Linked DNA regions of Homo sapiens: region 2 is linked to region 1. Evidence: promoter capture Hi-C in human tissues and cell types (Jung and others, 2019). All regions are on one chromosome and are shown on one strand. Each heading gives the region's core, a stretch centred on a gene start or on the middle of the fragment in contact. The rest is flanking DNA. Distances are from core to core; before and after follow the strand shown.

Region 1 (4,448 bases), core at 600-3,099:
ACCCCGGAAAACACTGCTCCCAACTCCTCTCTTGCCTGGTTTCCCAAAAGAGGTTTTTGGACACTTGCCCCAACACAACATTATATCTGGAATAAAGGAGTAATTGACACAAACATAAATATACACCAGATGAAACCAAGGGAGGAAGCAGGTAGCTCGTCCTGAGACCTGTCCCCTCAACTATGCATCTGGTGGCAGTGCAGCCTGGCTCACGGTGGACTTCACTCTTCTCCTCCCATTGCCATCGGCTTCCCAGGTTTCACGGCAACCTAGTCACCAAACACAGGCAATTCTGCGTTCTTAGGAGAAATGACAGGGGCCTGGGAGTAATAGTTTTAAACGACGCTAGAATTTTTTTTTATCATTAATTGTAAACGTGCAAAATACCTGCTGGTACTTCACTTTAGAAGAATGTAATTGGCAAAAGGAAAAAAAGGAAAAAAGAGGCGGCTGATGAATAGATAATAGATCTTTAACCACCAATAAACAGAGAGCAGCGCCAGCAGCCTGGGGATGTGATCATAATTATGCCGCCGCGCGAGCCAATGGGGACGAGGGAACTCGGTCCTAAAATCATCCCAAAACCGAAGGCGAGCTCGAAAATGCGGACACGGCCCGGGACCGGAGATGCGATCCGTAGTCGTTAGTTGCACTGGGTTTGCACAGCAACCACCACCCCCCCACCAACCCCGGGACAACAGATGGCATAATAATAATAATAGAAATAATAATAATAAAATAATATCATCTATAATAATAATAACATTGACCACACTGACAAAAATAATTACGACGGAACCTTAATAGTACAGTAGCACCATATCGGGCTCTCCCCTGACCTTGGACTGCCGGTCCCAGATATTCCAGAAGGAATTGTTTTGGGGAAGGAGGTGAGCACCCTCCCAGACAGAAAACGCTAGAGACCGTGGGGCGAGAGAGGGAGAGAGTTGGAAGCCCACTGCTCCGGCGGGGTCGGCAGCTCCCGGTCTCAACTCGCAAACGAACGAGCCGGGTCAAGAATCGCGAACGCACCGACCCTGGGACCTCGAGGCTAAGCGTGGTTGATGGGGTGGGAGGACCCCGTACCCCTCACTCCAGGATCCCTCCTGGCCTAGGAAACCGCTGGGAGTTTTGCTAAGTGTGGGGATTGGTATAACCGAACGGCGCCTTTAGCCCGGGAACCAGCCCCTGCCCGCTTACCCTCGCGGTGCTCTTGGGGCGATCCCAGTTCTCCCGACGCGGGGCCGCGTAAGGCAGCAGCGGCGGAGCGCTAGGCTAGAGGAATCTGTCTGTCCTTCTGTCCTACCAGCTTGGGCGAGGCAGGCTCGGGATTCAGGGGGCCGCAGCGGAGGCGGCGCCGGCCAGGGACTCTGCAGGGACCGGGGTGCCCCGGAGGGAGTGGTGCTGGTGGAGGAGGAGGCGGTGGCTGAGGGGGAGTAGGTGGGGAAAGAGGAGGAGGAAGAAGAGGAGGAGGAGGAAGAAGAGGAGGAGGAGGAGAAGAAGAAACTGGAGGAAGAGGAGGAGGCGAAGGAGGAGGAGAAGCCGCAGCGGGCGCCGCAGGAGCGAGTGAGCTGGGAGCGAGGGGCGAAGGCGCGGAGAAGCCCGGCCGCCCGGTGGGCGGCAGAAGGCTCAGCCGAGGCGGCGGCGCCGACTCCGTTCCACTCTCGGCCCGGATCCAGGCCTCCGGGTTCCCAGGCGCTCACCTCCCTCTGACGCACTTTAAAGAGTCTCCCCCCTTCCACCTCAGGGCGAGTAATAGCGACCAATCATCAAGCCATTTACCAGGCTTCGGAGGAAGCTGTTTATGTGATCCCCGCACTAATTAGGCTCATGAACTAACAAATCGTTTGCACAACTTGTGAAGAAGCGAACACTTCCATGGATTGTCCTTGGACTTAGGGCGCCCTGCCCGCCTTTTGCAGAGGAGAAAAAACTTTTTTTTTTTTTTGCCTCCCCCGAGAACTTTCCCCCCTTCTCCTCCCTGCCTCTAACTCCGATCCCCCCACGCCATCTCGCCAAAAAAAAAAAAAAAAAAAAAAAAGAAAAAAAAAGAAAAAAAAAGAAAAAAAATTACCCCAATCCACGCCTGCAAATTCTTCTGGAAGGATTTTCCCCCCTCTCTTCAGGTTGGGCGCGTTTGGTGCAAGATTCTCGGGATCCTCGGCTTTGCCTCTCCCTCTCCCTCCCCCCTCCTTTCCTTTTTCCTTTCCTTTCCTTTCTTTCTTCCTTTCCTTCCCCCCACCCCCACCCCCACCCCAAACAAACGAGTCCCCAATTCTCGTCCGTCCTCGCCGCGGGCAGCGGGCGGCGGAGGCAGCGTGCGGCGGTCGCCAGGAGCTGGGAGCCCAGGGCGCCCGCTCCTCGGCGCAGCATGTTCCAGCCGGCGCCCAAGCGCTGCTTCACCATCGAGTCGCTGGTGGCCAAGGACAGTCCCCTGCCCGCCTCGCGCTCCGAGGACCCCATCCGTCCCGCGGCACTCAGCTACGCTAACTCCAGCCCCATAAATCCGTTCCTCAACGGCTTCCACTCGGCCGCCGCCGCCGCCGCCGGTAGGGGCGTCTACTCCAACCCGGACTTGGTGTTCGCCGAGGCGGTCTCGCACCCGCCCAACCCCGCCGTGCCAGTGCACCCGGTGCCGCCGCCGCACGCCCTGGCCGCCCACCCCCTACCCTCCTCGCACTCGCCACACCCCCTATTCGCCTCGCAGCAGCGGGATCCGTCCACCTTCTACCCCTGGCTCATCCACCGCTACCGATATCTGGGTCATCGCTTCCAAGGTACGTGCCACGTCGCGGAACTGCAGCGCGCCGCTCCCGCCGCATCCTTCACTGCCCCCGGCCTGCTCCGGGTGGGCGCTTGGCAAGGCCTGGGCGGAGGTTCCTCCGGCTCGCGGGCCAGCGCGCCCTGTTGGGAAACTAGGCGGCGCGGGGCCGGGCGTGGTGTCGATCCCCAGTCTCCGAAGCTACGACTGGTTTGGAGTGATGGCCTGCGGGCCGCTTGACCCTTTGGGAAGGGGTGCGAACGGAGAAGTTGTCCCCCAGTGCGCTCGAATCAGAGCAGGCTGGGCTGTGCGTGCCCGGCGCCGCGGAGCCCAGAGCCCGCGGGATCCCCAGGCTCCTGGTACCCTCGGCAATGCCCCCAACCGTCCTGGCTCCGAGGGGCGCGGACAGGACTCGGCCGCCAGGCTTGCTTTCGACTGCGTTCGACCCTGTTCACCACCCACTTTGCGCCCCTTCAGTCCAGACCCGCGGCTTCTTAGTCTTCCACCCTCTTCTGGAGGCGAGAGGATCCTCGCGCCCCGGGAGAAAAGTATGGGATTTGTTTTTTCTTTCCTGCTTTTCGGAGGCCTGGGGAGGGGCGGGAACCCGTGCGGGAGGAAAGCTCCAGGGCTTGGCGCTCTCGCCGCGACCTGCTTAATTGGGGCGCCGAGCAGCCACAGCGGGAAGGCAGGTTCGGTCTGGTTTTTGTTTTTCTTTCTTTCTTTAAAAAAAAAAAAAAAGAACCTGGTCAGGAAACTGTCTTAGAGGGAAATATCTGTTCGTGTGTTTTCATTTCTTGCGATATTTTTTATTTGTTTGTTTTTCTCTGGGTACGGGGTGGGAGGAGGAGAGTTAAAACTTCAGAAAAAGGAGTAATTAGTTTACGGATTGGAGTCAGTAAAAGACCTACCTCCGGCGGCAGCCGATCAATACTCCGCGGCTTGTCCATTCATTAACCCATTGCGTTCCTGCCGGAGCCTAGAATCGGGTAGATGTCACCCCCCTCCCCATATTTTAAAAAATCAAACCAAAGGAAAAAAAACCCAAAAAGCCTTTTACCCTTAATCCCGAACTGGATTTGCCTGCATCCTGCCTGGACTGTCGGCTTGTTTTTCTTTGTTTGGGTTTTCGGTGAATCGATTTCCTATGCTAATGAGTGAACCCAAAACTCTGAGGCTTTGCTTGAAAAGTTTAGGGCTGCCCTTCCTCATTCGCTATCAGTCATGCTTATGGTCCCCTCACCAGACCCGGAGCCGCTGGGATCTTCCTGCGTTACAGACTGTCCTGGCGGTGTCTGCAAGTCGGTAACCCCCCGGGTTTCGATCCCTTCGCTCGCGTTTCTCTTCTAGTTCTCGGGAGCCGGGAGCCCCGGAGCCCAGTTCGCGAGAGGCAGCAGCGGCTGTAGCCAAGCACACCCGCCGGCCAGATTTCTGTCCCGATCGGGCTTCAACGACTCGCCCCGCCTCTATACTTTTCCGGAGGGGCAATAAAACAAATAATTTAAAAATAAATCTCCATGAAAACTCTGGAGAGCAGCCCGCCGCCTTTCCACCGTGGGTCAAAGTTCCCCGAGAGGTTAGAAAGAAGAGAAAGTAGTTTCTTCGGGTTGTGGGCGCCAATCCCCTGGCCAGGCTCTGCGGCTCCCTCCCCTGCCTCCAGCGCCCGGCGAGGAGGTGGCGAGGCCCGCGG
Region 2 (4,507 bases), core at 72-2,571, 1.2 Mb after region 1:
CATTTTCAAATTAATGAAAAACACCCTAAGAACCATAATGTCCCCAGAAAGGTTGCCTAATTTGTCATTACTCTCAATAGAACACAAATTATGTAAAAGTCTTGATTATAACAACATAATTGGTAATTTACTTAAAAGAAGGCAAGAAAATTAACTTTCATAAAATACATATAATTTATGAATTATGTATTTTTTTATTACTCATCCACATGTTGCCAGTCCATCAAAAGAACACCCAGACATACACAATAATAGTTCCATTCAGTCATCCTTGTTATTTTACCATAGCTTTACATACATTTTTTATTTTGTTATCATCTGAAGGTATGTTTGTCAAGGAAGGAGGATAGGAAGTGTGTTACTTAGCAGTTAGCTGTATGTATAACATTTAAATATTTAGACATACAAATGAGTCATTTTGCACTCTTGCTGCAAATGTTAGAATTAGGCCTGGTGAGGAGGCCAGGGAGGTAAGAGGCCAGAGGACTGGAAGGGCCATCCGTGGGGATGTTAATGTTTCCCTCAAGACAATGAATGATGACAGGAGCTGGCATGGAGATTAAGGCCATCCAGGAACAAAAAAGAGGAGGTTGGCCGGGCGCGGTGGCTCATGCCTGTAATCCCGCACTTTGGGAGGCCAAGGTGAGCAGATTACTTGAGATCAGGAGTTCAAGACCAGCCTGGCCAACATGGCGAAACCCCATGCCTACCAAAAAATACAAAAACTAGCTGGGTGTGATGGCACGCGCCTGTAATCCCAGCTACTCGTGAGGCTGAGGCAGGAGAATTGTTTGAATCCTGGAGGCAGAGGTTGCAGTGGGCTGAGATCGCACCACTGCACTCTAGCCCAGGAGACGGAGTGAGACTCTATCTGAAAAAAAAAAAAAGAGAGAGAGAGAGGGCGGGGTTGATAATGACCAGGAGATTGCTTCTATGAGCAGGTGAGGTGGAAAACTTCAATGGTGGGAGCCTCAGCGGAAAGGGAAGGGAAGGATTGAAATGGAAGCAGTGTGGGAACAAGGAAGACACCAACACCACCTCCCTATCAGAGGAATATGGGACATGAGAAAACAGTGTGCCCTTCAGAGGTCACAAGGGACGCAGTGCTCAGAGAATAGCTCAGGTTAAGGCAAGAACCTGCAGGGAATATTTCAAGCAAAAAATACATCAAAGAATGTGCTGCCGGGCGCAGTGGCTCATGCCTGTAATTCCAGCACTTTGCGAGGCCGAGGCAGGTGGATCACCTGAGGTCAGGAGTTCAAGACCAGCCTGACCAACATGGTGAAACCCTGTCTCTACCAAACATACAAAAATTAGCTGGGTGTGGTGGCGCACGCCTGTAATCCCAGCTACTCGGGAAGCTGAGGCAGGAGAATCGCTTGAACCCGGGAGGCAGAGGTTGCAATGAGCCGAGATTGCGCCATTGCACTCCAGGCTGGGCAACAAGAGGGAAAGTTCATCTCAGGAAAAAAAAAAAAAAAAAAAAAAACTCAGAGGTGTATTAAAAGTCATTGCTTGTACTTTGGGTGATGAAACAACATCGAGTGGTCCAGGGTGTCCAATCCCAATGGAGTCTTAGAGGAAGAGGGTACCTGGGCCTAACACAGTTTAGCTGTGGCCTGCAAGGGAGGCCCTTCCTGGCACTGAAATGTAGGACTGGATCTCCACTGTCAGCCATCACTGCCAGGTGCCATAGGCAGATCTGATGTTGGCAGCTGTGAGCAACAAGACACCTGGTTATTCGATCTTGGCACCAACACTCTCAATGGATTAACCCTGGGTAGAGGCCAGGGTGCCTTTTGAAGGCCACAGTAATCATCCAGGAGGAGTTGGTATCTATCTTGTCATATTTAAGAGGCAGCAGATACAAATGAGTCTCCACTTCACTTGTTTCACACACAGTCAGCTCTTTCATACATCATACCTCAAATTGCCTTTCATACTCTAAACCCAAACATCAGCTTTGGCACGGGGGTGCCTGCTGCTAGTCCACAGGTCAGTTTTGGCAGCAATCCTTTACGTATCTGGTCAATATTATATGTTTATAAAAATTGCATGTTTTGCCTCATTACTTCATAAAAATGAGTAGAAAATGGAAAACTGGATGATCTGATACCAGTGATTAAGAAAAAAAGCTATAAAGTTAATCCAATTTAGACACAGATAGAAACCATTAGGAGGAGGCAAGCAGGCATTCTAATCTCTATCCATCATTCATGGGACTTCAGCCAGTCATTCACGTGTTTAATTGCAACGTAAAGAACAAAATTAAGTTCAAAAGGCAACAAAGTACTATCAAGGACTGTTGGAAAGGACAATTGTAATTGAGGATTTTATAATATTTTTAGCTTTATGAGAACCGTTCAGTTGTCCCAACATTTTGAGAGGCATGTTTTGTAAGGAAACAGAGGCCTTCCTGTGCAGTCATCAGAGATTCAGTATCTCCGAGGTGAGAGTTTAAGCATCATCCTCAAGGTTTGAAAATGGGAAGGTCATTGACGTGGTTGTATAATTCTAAGTCAGGGAAGGCATCTGATAGCTGTTGTAAAGCGACTGGGTGCCTGGCCCATACCAGGGGCTTTTTCATCCGGCCTGGGCTGCCTTTCCTCTAGACTAGAACTCCCCTTAAAACCAGTGCTGAGGAGCCTGAGGGTGAGGATGGCCACAGCATTATACAGCTTTTCCATGTGGAAAAGAGCACCATGCCTAATAACACAGTCATGTGTTACTTAATGATGGTAATGCATTCTGAGAAAGGGGTTGTTAGGCAATTTTGTTGTTGTGGGAACATCATAGAGTATACAAACCTCAACAGCACAGCCTACTACACACCTAGGTTATATGGCATAGCCTGTTGCTCCCAGGCAACAAACCTGTACAGCACGTGACTGTACTGAGTACTGTAGGCAACTGGAACATGTTGTGGATCTAAACATACCTAAACATTGAAAAGGTACAGCCAAAAAATATGGTATAAAAGATAAAAATGGTATACTTGCATAGGGCACTTACCACGAATGGAGCTTACAGGGCTGGAAGTTGCTCTGGGTGAGTCAGTGAGTGAGTGGTGAGTGACTGTGAAGGCCTAGGACACTGCTGTGCACTACTGTAGACTTTACAAACACAGTACACTTAACACTAAATTTATTTTTAAACATTTCTTTCTCCAATAAGTTAACCTTAGCTTACTTTAACTTTTCTACTTTCTAAGCTTTTTAATTTTTTAACTTTTTGACTCTTTTGTAATAACACTTAGCTTAAAACACACGTTGTCCAGCTATACAAAAATATTTTCTTTCCTTATATCCTATAAGAAAACTTTTTTCTATTTTAAAATTAATTTTTTACTTTTTAAACTTTTTTGTTAAAAACTAAGACACAAACACACATTAGCTGGGCCTACACAGGGTCAGGATCATTAAGACATCACTAGATGACAGGAATTTTTCAGCTCCATTATAATCTTTTGGGACTCCCATCACGCATATGGTCCGTCGCGGACCAAAACATCCTTTATGTGGTGCATGACTATATCAGTAATATTAAGGCTACTACTAACAGTGATATTAATGGCAAACATTCACTGCATGTTAACTGTGTAGGATATAATAAATTCCTCTTCAAAGGGTTTAGCCTGTAAATTGTTAAGTACAATGAGTTCTGAGATCCTCTCCAAGGAACTAATGTATCAGTATGTTCAGCTCCCCTGTTCTTTGTCCTTCATTTTAAAGTTTAACTTCCTCATAGTTTCAGTAAACAACCTTTTCCACCAGTTTTAATCAGTAGTTCACATCTGTTCCCCTGGTCACCTGCTCCGTCCTGACTCATCCTGGTCACCCGCTTTTTTTTTTTTTTTTGAGACAGAGTCTCACTCTGTCGCCCAGGCTGGAGTGCAGTGGCCCCATCTCCGCTCACTGCAAACTCCGCCTCCCGGGTTCACACCATTCTCCTGCCTCAGCCTCCCAGGTAGCTAGGACTACAGGCGCCCGCTACCACGCCCAGCTAATTTTTTGTATTTTTAGTAGAGACGGGGTTTCACCATGTTAGCCAGGATCGCCTCCATCTCCTGACCTCGTGATCCACCTGCCTCGGCCTCCCAAAGTGTTGGGATTACAGGCGTGAGCCACTGTGCCCAGCCTGGTCACCTGCTTTCACCTGAGTCACCCTTGGTCACCTGCTCTGACCTAAGTCACCTTTAGTTACCTGTTCCCTAACCGTCTTTCCCGCTGAAGCTACTCACCCCATCACTCAGACTTGTACCCCTACTGTCTTTAAAATAGCCAATCGGAATTAGCTTAGACTGTGTGGTCCAACCCTAGCCAAGAGGGGAACGACACAGCAGTAGGGGCTACCTGCGTCAGGAATAAGAACCCCTTCCCCTACCTCGTTCAGGCATGCTCTCACCATTGCTCCATCCGCAAGTCGCACCCTTCTGTAGAAGTAAAAATTGCCTTGCTAAGAAAATTAAATTTATGTTTCAGTGCTATTTCTTTGGTGGCACCAAAAA

What was found. Contacts are between HindIII fragments. The study calls those that stand out against the background at their distance.
Region 2: a contact is called between a fragment that was not itself captured here and the fragment with the promoter of EMX2 in region 1, in 1 of the 25 tissues and cell types used here (dorsolateral prefrontal cortex).

The regions. Positions count from the first base shown.
Region 1 is chr10:117,540,897-117,545,344 of GRCh38, forward strand. It overlaps EMX2 (empty spiracles homeobox 2), which reads left to right and starts at 1,850. Exons shown (of 3, transcript NM_004098.4): 1 at 1,850-2,777. The coding sequence starts at 2,372. It also overlaps EMX2OS. RefSeq lists enhancers at 3,065-3,687, 3,688-4,310. The HindIII fragment of the contact is 12,526 bases long and covers 1-4,448 here.
Region 2 is chr10:118,765,673-118,770,179 of GRCh38, forward strand. No RefSeq gene overlaps it. Among named protein-coding and RNA genes, the nearest start is that of CACUL1, 13 kb to the left of the region's middle. The HindIII fragment of the contact is 5,691 bases long and covers 1-4,167 here.